2 separate regions of the Homo sapiens genome follow, and region 1 is linked to region 2. The links are contacts of gene promoters, found by promoter capture Hi-C in blood cells and fetal thymus (Javierre and others, 2016). All regions are on one chromosome and are shown on one strand. Each heading gives the region's core, a stretch centred on a gene start or on the middle of the fragment in contact. The rest is flanking DNA. Distances are from core to core; before and after follow the strand shown.

Region 1 (5,110 bases), core at 503-3,002, 460 kb after region 2:
CAGTCACCACAGAAACAGGATGATCCCCAAATCTAGGAAAACTATCTCCTACACTGATCTAAGACCCCTGGCTGTTAAAGAGGCTCTTTCTGTAAATACTGCAACATAAGAGACAGAAAGAGACATTATATTCTCATGAACACTCAGGAGAGAAAAGGTCACTTTTACTTATCTTCTCAACCCAGCAAGGCTCTCCAAACCTGGATGACTGGAATGTCGCCTGTGTGCAAAGGCTGGGCCTCGTGAGCATGGTTGTTTACTTTGGCACACAGCTAAGTGGGGTTCAAAAATCAAAACTGAATGACCCAATGGCAGAAAGTTATTCCTTTCAAATACAATAATGCAATCTCCACTGTCCAAGGAATCTAATTAATCATTTTGTTTTCCAGAGCTGAAAATACTCCTACCTAGAATCTACTTTGTATGGCTGGCGCATTCTCTTCTGTGTCTTCCCCTTAGAGAAGTGTCCTCTAATCCTTTATGGACCGTCTCCATCCCCGTTAATCCCTATCATCGCCCACTGTTTTCACAATGGCATCTGTCATAGGTTATCATCATATGAAACAGGTAATATCTATCGAATGCTTACTGTGTGCCAAGCACTGTTCCAATTGCTTTCCAAGTCAAACTCGTTTAATCCTTACAAGAAGCCTATATGGTGGAATCTCTTGTCATCCTGTCTTTACGGCAAGGAAACACGCGCAAGCAGAATGAGGAACTGGCCTAAAGCCAGTTCAGGAACAGCTTTCACAGTGGCAGGGCTGGGATCAAACCCAGGAAGTGTGGTTCGAAACTATCCGCTCTTGTGTTTTTATTCATCGGCTTATTATCTGTCCCCCATTAAGCTCAACACTTCAGGAGGGTAGAGATCCATCTATTACTTTGCAACCTCTTTGGCTGATCTGGTGCCTGACTTGAAATAAGTGCTCCACAACTACTTGTTGAATTCATGAATTGCAAAGAGTTCGGTATAATGGGAGTAGAGAGAAAGGTGTAGGAGAAAACGCTGCGGGGAGAGGAAAGGATTGGCTCACAAGGGCCTGGAAGGTCAGGCTAGGCAAAGTGAATTTTATCCTGTTGGATGCGGGGAGCGGCTGGAACAAATTCCACCTCCACAACTGTGTTGATCTCCGCATCTCTGTTGATATGAACCTCACAACAGTCTATCTCCTCCTATAGGTGCCCAGTCAAGATTTACTGAATGACATAACGGATCCTGCAAGCCTGCAGGTTTCCAGAGGGAAGGGGACTTGTGCCTCCTTGCTTCGTACCTACCGCAGCCCACGGCTCACAGCAGGCGAGGGATGAATGAATGGATCGGTAAGGGGCGGACCCTCCCGCTTCCCCCAACCCGGCGACCTACGGAAAGGGGCTGAGGGGTTCCCCGTCTGGGAAAAGGGCTGCCAAAGACTCTAACGGCTCTAAAGTCAGACGGAGAACCCCGATCCCCGGACTGGCCCGGACGGAGACCACCGTGGGGATCCGGATCCGCCACCCTCCTCCCTCCAGGCGGGCCCCGGCCCCTCTCCACCCGAGTGCGGCTCCTGCCTCTCCGTCGGGGCTGCGGGCCTGCCGAGGCCACGGAGCCAGCGAGGGAGACGGGCGAGAAAGGCTCTTCTCCCTTAGGAAAGAGAGAACGGCCCGAAATGACAGGACCTCCGCCTCCCGGGTGCCGACTCCCAGCCCCACAGCCCGGCTCCTCCTACCTCCGGCGCCGCCGCGGCACCTTCTTAACGGAGACTCGCGCGCCTGCGCATGCGCCGCCCGCGCCCCCGCGGAGCATTGCCTGCGCGCAGGCGCAGAGCGGGCGCGCGCGGTGGTGCGGCAGCCTCGCTTCCGGTCTTCCTCTGCGGCGCCGGGCGCGGGCCCGCGGCGGCCAGCGCTTCCGGTCGGCAGGAGGCGGGGCGAGGCGGAAGCGGCGCTTGCTTCAGGTGGAGTCTGTTAGTTTTTGAGAAAGAGTTAGGGCGAGTTTAAGGCACTGTGGCAGCTGTGAGATAAAGTCTGGTTCCTCCCCAGCTGGCTCAGGAAATGTTCGCGGATACAACGGCGGCCCCCTCTGGGCATACCTGCCTGTGGAGCGGAGAGTGGACGGTGTGAGGGGGACCGGGAGAGGCACCAAATCTGGCCTGGGGGCCCGAGAAGCTTCCTCTCAGGTGGGGTGGCGTGAGAGTCGAGGCCTGGAGGTCGGGGAGGGTTAGCTACGTGAAGAGGGGATTCTGCCGCGCTTCAGGTGCCTGGAGGGGATGCCCGAGCTCTTCCGCAGGGCTAGGGTGAAGCCAGCCAGGGCCTGGGGGAAAGGTAGCAGAGGTTTGCCATGGCTTGGTATTTGAGGGACTTTACACATCGTATTAAGGGTTTGAGCTTCAACTTGGGGTCGTCGGGAGCCATTGAAGGTTTTTTGTTGTTTGTTTTTTGAGACGGGGTTTTGCTCTTGTTGCCCAGGCTGGGGTGCAGTGGCGCGATCTCGGCTCACTGCAACCTCTGTCTCCCGGGTTCGAGCGGTTCTTGTGCCTCACCTTCCCAAGTAGCTGGGATTACAGGCGCCAGTCACCACGCCCAGCTAATTTTTGTGTTTTTAGTAGAGACTAGGTTTCACTCTGTTGCCCAGGCTGGTCTCCAACTCCTGACCTCAGGTGATCCGCCCGCCTCGGCCTCCCAAAGTGGTGGGATTACAGGCGTGAGCCACCGCTCACGGCTTTTTTTTTTTTTTTTTTTAAGTAGAGACGGGCGGTGGGGGCGGGGGGGGGAGTCTCACTATGTTGCCCAGGCTGGTCTCGAGCCCTGGCCGCAAGAGATCCTCCCGCCTCGGCCTCCCAAAGCGCTGAGATTACAGGCGTGAGCCACCACGCCCGGCGTAAGATTTTGTTTTTAAAGGCCTAATTACAGTGAGAACAGATGAGGCAAGGACACCCATTAGGAGGCTATTACATAATCTAGATGAAAAGTGAGAGCGGCCCGAATTAGGAGGTGGAGCGAAAAGAATGGAGAAATATGGAGCATAGTCAAGACGCAGTTGTTAACGATTTGCCGGTTTCTGGCCTTAACATCTGAGAGTAGTGTGCCTCCAGTCACTGAAATAATGAACACAGGAGAGGTGTAAAGGAATCAGTTTGCAGGGCAGACAATATGTTTTTTAAAAGATACAGTATCATAAAATGCACACTAGAAGTGTACATTCAGTGGTTTCCAGTACGTTCACAGGATTTGCAGCCATCGTCGCTAATTCCAGAACGTTTTAAAACCCCAAATCGAACCTGCCGTACCCATTCGTAGTCACTCCGCAATTCCCCCGACCCCATCCCCTGGCAATCACTTATCGGCTTTCTGTCTCTGTGGTTTTGCGTATTCAGTACATTTTATGTAAATGGGATCATGTGATACTTGGCTTTTTCTGCTGGGCTTTTATTAAGCATGTTTTCAAGATTTCATCCATGTAGATGAATCAGTACTGCATGCCTTTTCATGGCTGCATAATCACGTGTTTGGATGGACCATGTTTTGTTTATCCATGTATCAGGTGATGGGCATATGGATGTTTTTACTTTTTGGCTGTTAGAAATAATGCTGCTATGAACATTCGTGTTCATAACACAAGTTTTTGTGTTCTAGGAGTGGAATTACTGGGTAAGACTACATTTGATTCTGAATGTTGAGCTTCAAAACCTTCCAAGAGGTTTTCCTTGATGAAGGATTTAGGAGGTGTTTACTTGCTCTCTGGCTTGGAAATCTAAGTTAGTTTGTAATATGGTTTCCAACTGGATAAAGAAGACAGAACAAGAATGATAAGCAGCCCAGAGGCAAGGGTAGGGCAGGGTGTCTTGGGACTTGAATTTATAGAGGAGACTGAGTGACGACATGGAGAGGCCAGTGCTGTTGAAATAATTTCTCTTTCCTTCCTTCCCTTCCTTGCTTCGTTTTCGACGGAGTTTGGCTCTTGTTGCCCAGGCTGGAGCGCAGTGGTGTGTGCAACCTCCACTTCCCTGGTTCAAGCGATTCTCCTGCCTCAGCCTCCGGAGTAGCTGGGATTACAGGCGCCCGCAACCGCGCCTGGCTAATTTTTTTTTTTTTTTTTTTTTTTGGACAAAATCTCGCTCTGTTGCCCAGGCTGGAATGCAGTGGTGTGATCTCGGCTCACTGCAAGCTCTGCTTCCCGGGTTCACGCCATTCTCCTGCCGCAGTCTCCCGAATACCTGGGACTACAGGCGCCCGCCACCACACCTGGCTAATTTTTTGTATTTTTAGTAGAGACGGGGTTTCACCATATTAGCCAGGATGGTCTCGATTTCCTGACCTCGTGATCTGCCCGCCTTGGCCTCCCAGAGTGCTGGGATTACAGGTGTGAGCCACCGCGCCCGGCGTAATTTTTTGTATTTCTAGTAGAGACGGGGTTTCACCATGTTGGCCAGGCTGGTCTCAAACTCCTGACATCAGGCGGGCGATCTTCCTGCCTGGACCTCCCAAAGGGCTGGGATTACTGGTGTGAGCCACCGCGCCTGGCCTGAAATAATTTACTTACATTTCTCAAGAAAAGGAGGCGTGCCACCACGTTCAGAGCCACAAGGGAGACATCAGCTTTTGGTTAGGAGGAAGAAATAGGAACAAGGAGAAAGTCTAGGCCAGAACCTTTATGGGGTTCCTCAGAAATAGCAAGTCAGGGCGGAGTAAACATTTTAGGATTGGATAATTTAAATAATTCCATCACGCTTTGCCTTTGGGTGGTCTCTAGTTGCTTGGTACCTGGCCATGGATGATTTAGGGCAGGAGAAATACTGGCTTGGTGTGTGAGAGTTAGATAAAGGGGGGAGGCTGACTTGCCTGTGAGAGGCATGCTCCCAAGTAAGTTGTTTACTGTCTTGAGGAATTAGACCTGGGAGAGGCAGTCTCCCTGCCAGCAAGATTTATTAAGATTTCAAAATATCATAGGATACAGAAAATTTTTTTAAACATCTAATAAACATGGACATGGCTGGGTTATGAAGGATAATTGTAATGGTAGAAATTACTGTTTTCCAGTCAGACTGAAAATGAAGTGCCTGTTTCCTATTTAGGATTTAAATCTCTTAGAGTCCTGGTGAAGAAAGTCTTTGCTACCTCTCTCCCCCAACCCCAA
Region 2 (5,677 bases), core at 1,944-4,443:
CAGCTGTGGTCCAGCCATGTTCCCTACATGGGTTAGGATGTGTAGTAACAGCAGTGATGGTGAGTGCTGTGAGGCGCAGCTGTGCCAACCACTGTGTGTGCAGGTTTCCTCTAGGCTGTGAGTTCCACGAGGCCAGGGTAGACCTGCCTGCCCCAAGGCCCTGCTCAGTGTCTGGCACATAGTAGGTGCACAGTAAATGTTTGTTCAGTAGTGAATCTCTCCATAGGCTCACCTCTGCAAATACCTAGCAACAACTTGTTCCAGATGCAAGAAGTCCCTGCTCCCTGCCCTGTTCTCTTGCCTGATTCCTGGGTCCTGCCTCCTTGTACCCCACTTTCCACCAACAATAGGACCCCTGGGATTGGAAGGCAGAGGGTTGGGGCCTTGGTCTGATGCTCTGGCCCTGATCCCCTGACCTAGGCTATGTGGCCTATCGCGATGACAAGGGCTCAGACTTTATCCAGACACTGGTGGAGGTCCTCAGAGCCAACCCCGGGAGAGACCTTCTGGAGCTGCTGACTGAGGTGTGTTGGGGGGTTCCAGGGTGACAAGTGGCAAGGAGCTGGGTTTGCCCTTCTCCCCAGCCCTGGTATTCTGATCACCTCCTATGAACTCCATTGGCGAAGGAGGGATCCTCTGCCCTCAATACTACAAGATAACCAAACGCAGGATGGCCGACGCTGCACAGATGCCATCCACTGCAGTTCTTAGTCACACGTACTGCAGTCGGGTGGGGAGGAGGACACTGCATGTCATGCGGGGCCACCTGGGCTTGTGCTCAGAGCAGGGTGAACCTGCAGGGCCAGTGGGAAGCTGGCTTTGTAGTGACAAGAGAGTGAGATGCCCCCTGGTTCCCACGGGCAGATGTGGTTGGTTGGTTTGAATATTTCCAAGGCCTGTCAGGGGGCTGAAGTCCATTAGGGTGACGACCAGGTGGGGTGCAGCTGGTCTGCTGAGAGGGGACCTAGGGGGTGGGAGCCTGTCCTGCTGGGTGGGGACATGTCTGGCCAGAGCAGAGGAATTCACCGTTAGGCCTCTGGAGCTCTGCGAGCCTCAAAGATGTCCAGGCAGTCCTTGAAATTTTAGGCCTTGCAATGTACCAAGCCAGGGGCTCTCCCCTGGGGCAGGCTGAGCCCCGGAGGGCTGTAACCCCGGGCGCAGGCTGGGTGTGGTCCTCAGGTCAACAGGCGGGTGTGCGAGCAGGAGGTGCTGGGCCCCGACTGCGATGAACTCCGCAAGGCCTGCCTGGAGATCCGCAGCTCGCTCCGGCGCCGGCTCTGCCTCCAGGCCTGAGGGTGCGGCGGCCACGGGGGCGCTGCTGAGACGGTGGCCAGATCCCAGCGCCATTCTTGCCTCCATCCACCCCCCATCCCCCCGGTTTCCTCATCTGAGAGCGAGGCGTGGCAGCGTGGGGGTGGCCGTGCAATAAATATCTGCCGTGAACAGTGCCTGTTCTCAAGGACGTGTGAAATAAGTGAGATAATGTGTGTAAAGCGCCTGGCACTGCATATGGACGCAATAGTGTCCATGGGAACCGAGTTGGGGCCTGTGCCCAGCTTCCGGGACTTAGGAACCCAACATGGGCTGGACTGGGCTGGGCTGGGTTGGCAGTTCGGTTATGGGAGCGTCCAGGGGGAGAGGGGTCCCAGGAAGAGGACGCATATCCCTCTCCCAGACATGTCCCTGTGTATGCGCGCCCCACCTCCACCCCGCGCTGGGCCATAGAAACTCAGGAGACACGGCCTCCGCTTTCCAGGCGGCCAGAATAAAGTCTGGGGCCAAAAGCCTCTGAAACACACCTTTGCAGGTTCACCGTGATGGAGCAAGCACAGGGGCTGGGCAAGCAGCTTGCAGCCCCTGACCCAAAGCGGCGGGAGGCACATGGGGGAAAGCGCTCCCAAACGGCGTCTCGGAGGGGCCTGCTGCGGGGAGGGTGGGGTAGGGCGGGCTCGCCAGGGCTCGAACTCACAGTCCCGGGCCCGCGGCGGCGGTTTCCACCCAGCAGCCTCAGCGGCCCGGCGCGGTGGCCCAGCTCGGAGTCCCGCCCACCGGGAGCCTCGGAAGGACCGGCCTCCCCTCACTCTAAGCATGCGCGTTAAAGCGACAGCATAGGCTATAGAAAGCTTTATGAGAATAGCTGGGAGCCATACAGCCGCAGGGCCGCGTGGCCTAATGGATAAGGCGTCTGATTCCGGATCAGAAGATTGAGGGTTCGAGTCCCTTCGTGGTCGTTGCCATGTTAACGTTTTCTTCCAGCTCCACTTAAAATTTCTTCACCTGGGACTGCACCCTGGGCGACTACGACACTCGAACTGAGTGCGCCGGTCGCTCTCCCCTCACCCCCGTAGGAACACTGGGACCTCGCCCTGCGCCTCCAGTCGCGAAGCTAAGGACCCAGGGCCAGAATAGCAGCGAGGGCGACTTAGAGAACGCCGGCAGGGCCCTGGCGGACTGCGGAGCTTGAAGCCAGAGAACGCAGGTCCTGGGATCTGGTAGGGGATTGACTTCACAAATTAACGTTCAGGTGATGGAAACCGTGACAGACGCGGGGCTGGGATTGCTTGCTGTGAGGAGTTGCCCCAAGGGATCAAAGGACACCTGTAGTTTTTTGTTTTTGTTTTTGTTTTTTTTTTGAGACGGAGTTTCGCTCTTGTTGCCTAGGCTGGAGTGCAATGTCTTGATCTCCGCTCACTGCAACCTCCGCCTCCCGGGTTCAAACGATTCTCCTGCCTCAGCCTTCCGAGTAGCTGGGATTACAGGCATGCGCCACCAGGCCCGGCTAATTTTTGTATTTTTAGTAGGGTGGGGGGGTGGGCGGGGGTGGGTTCTCCATGTTGGCCAGGCTGGTCTCGAACTCCCGACCTCAGGTGATCGTCCAGCCTCGGTCTCCCAAAGTGCTGGGCTTACAGGCGTGAGCCACCGCGCCCGGCGACATGTGTAGTTTAATTGATTATTGTGATGAAAAACTTTGTATCAACTGATCATGGGGTAACAAAGTAAAAAAGAAAACGATTATAGTGGTGATGAGCCGGGCGCGGTGGCTCACGCCTCTAATCCCAGCACTTTGGGAGGTCGAGGCGGGCGAATCATGAGGTCGGGAGTTCCAGACCAGCCTGACTCACATGGTAAAACCCCGTTTCTACTAAAAATACAAAAATTAGCGGGACGTGGTGGCGCGCGCCTGTACTCCCAGCTACTCAGGAGGCTGAGGCAGGAGAATCGCTTGAACCCGGGAGGCCGGAGGCTGCAGTGAGCCAAGATCGCGCCACTGCACTCCAGCCTGGGCGACAGAGCGAGACTCCGTCTCAAAATAGAAAATAAATAAAATAAAATAAAATAAAATAAAATAAAATAAAATAAAATAAAATAAAATAAAATTCAAAGAGTATCTCCAGGATTGAGTTAATATTTCGCCGAGGGGAAAAAAAATGTCTACCAGCGGAACCCGAGTTTAGTCCGGGTGCCGAGCAGCGCCTCTTGGGGTATCCTTCCACGGGGTGGGGTATCCTTCCACGGGGTGAAGGCTGCGGAGAGTCGCAGCTGCAGGCATGGCCTCCGGTCGGCGGACGCTGGTGACCTGGCGTCGTGCAGGGTGTCACTTTCTCCTTTAATTTTTTTTGATGTTTCAGTGGTTTACGAAGGTATTTGTTTTTGGTAGAGACGGGGCGCTCACTATTTTGCCCATGATGGTCTCGAACTCCTGGACTGAAGCGTTTACTAGGTATTAAAGGAAAAGAACGTCATTAAAATACAGATTTTTTAAAAAAGGAAAATAACACACGTGTTGGGGCAGGAAAGTAAACACCCAACGTGGCGATCCTGAGATTAACACCTAGCCAGCTGGGGATGTAGAGGGCGGATTTTGGAGGGTCATTATTAAGAGGCTTCCGACCACTGGGCGGCACCCTTGGTCTAACGGACAATGCGGGGGAGGAGGACGAAGACCGACACTTCCAGAAGCGGCGGGCTCGGGATGAGGAGCCAGTTGCTGAGCTGGCATCGCGTGCCCCTTCCCATACACTCTACCCATCGCAAGTGCATCATTCGCTACTAATTACCCCTAGACTTGGGTTGTCTCCTGAGTGGAGACGACGGCTTGTGAAGGAGTTGATCCAGGCACCTCTCGCACCCTAAGCGAAGATCATACCCCTAGACCAAAGAGCGGAGCCAAAAATCTGACGTTCGGTGTCTTTCAGGTCCCTCTGCACGTGCGCCGTCTCTTTGGGGTCCCGAGGATGCTCAGGAGCGGACGAGATCTGAACCGAAGCTTGGATTGCAGTGGAGGGGCGGGAGAAAGGCCAGGGTAGGACGGGCAGGCTGTGCAGGAACCACCGCGGAGTGATGGAGAAACTGGTCTAAGACAAGCGACAGCGTTTTGTTATCCGCCCCGGTGGCCTAATGGATAAGGCATTGGCCTCCTAAGCCAGGGATTGTGGGTTCGAGTCCCACCCGGGGTAAAGAAAGGCCGAATTTTAGTGTTCCTTATCGGGCAGAAGAGTTAGAATGCGGTATACTCCAGTGGAGGTGCGGAGTTTCCGAAGGGTTACCAAAAAGGCTCTAAATCAGAAACCTCTACCTGTTTTCAAGGAAGACGAGCACAATTTCACGTTACAGAAAAAAGGAGCCGAATCTTTTACAGGATGTTAAGTACCATCCATTTAACTTGATAGAAAGGAATGATTGTTTATTTTTCCAGGTTTGTTAATTCTATTATGGTTACAAATATTTTTTAAATCCTTTTTTTTATAAACACAATTATTTACAGATTAAATTACAAGACAACTGGTTTGTTTTAAAAATCATAAAACTGAGGCCAGGTGCGCTGGCTTAAACTTGTAATCCCAGCCTGTAATCTCCGTTTCAAAAAAAAAAAAAAAGAAATCATAAGATGGATGGCGGTATAGATGAAACTACTTATCCATGAGTAGATAATGGGGGACATGAGGGGACATTGCACTATTTTCTCTCTTTTAATACATATTTGAAATAGTCCATAGTATTCTTTTTTTAAATCCATGCAATATATGATGCCATCTTCAAGGTAAAAATTTCCCGAACTACAGGACATGGTGTAAAGTAAAATCAGAAGCCGCTCTGATGGGGACCACTGCTGGAGTTTTGTCATAAATATGTATAAAAACATGGTTGGCTTTTGCCTTTAAAACCAATAATTGGCCCGGGCGCAGTGGCTCCCGCCTGTAATCCCAGCACTTTGGGAGGCCGAGGCGGGCGGATCACGATCACGCACCAGCCTGACCAACACGGTGAAACCCCGTCTCTACTAAAAATAGAAAAATTAGCCGGGCGTGGGGGCACGCGCCTGTAATCCCAGCTCCTCAGGAGACTGAGGCAGGAGAATCACTTGAACCCGGGAGGTGGAGGTTGCAGTGAGCGGAGATCGCGCCACTGCACTCCAGCCTGGGTGACAGAGACTCCGTCTCAAAATAAATAAATAAATAAATAAAACTCATAATTGGGACTCTTCTGTTTTTCCAGCTCTGGCCTGGCTTCTCCCAGTTCCCCAAACATCCTGGACCCCATCATCTCCACTGAAATCAGGGACCTCACCTCAATGGCATTACCTTCCTCACCTCAATGGCGTTACCTTCCTCACCTCAATGGGGTTACCTTCCTCACCTCAATGGCGTTACCTTCCACACCTCAATGGGGTTACCTT

The links. The method cuts DNA at HindIII sites, captures the fragments that hold promoters and counts their contacts. A CHiCAGO score of 5 or more calls a contact.
Region 1: the fragment with the promoter of SLX4 here is called in contact with a fragment that was not itself captured in region 2 in 1 of 17 cell types (megakaryocytes); the score reaches 5.9 in megakaryocytes.

Annotation. Positions count from the first base shown.
Region 1 is chr16:3,609,854-3,614,963 of GRCh38, forward strand. It overlaps SLX4 (SLX4 structure-specific endonuclease subunit), which reads right to left and starts at 1,753. Exons shown (of 15, transcript NM_032444.4): 1 at 1,707-1,753. It also overlaps a transcript of DNASE1 not described here. RefSeq lists a silencer at 1,611-1,960 and an enhancer at 2,001-2,070. The HindIII fragment of the contact is 2,900 bases long and covers 1-2,140 here.
Region 2 is chr16:3,148,516-3,154,192 of GRCh38, forward strand. TRR-CCG1-3 (tRNA-Arg (anticodon CCG) 1-3) reads left to right here and starts at 2,159; the gene lies at 2,159-2,231. TRR-CCT3-1 (tRNA-Arg (anticodon CCT) 3-1) reads left to right here and starts at 4,385; the gene lies at 4,385-4,457. It also overlaps the pseudogene CASP16P and the pseudogene TRP-AGG6-1. RefSeq lists an enhancer at 1,232-1,281 and silencers at 1,882-2,231, 4,413-4,552. The HindIII fragment of the contact is 2,144 bases long and covers 2,122-4,265 here.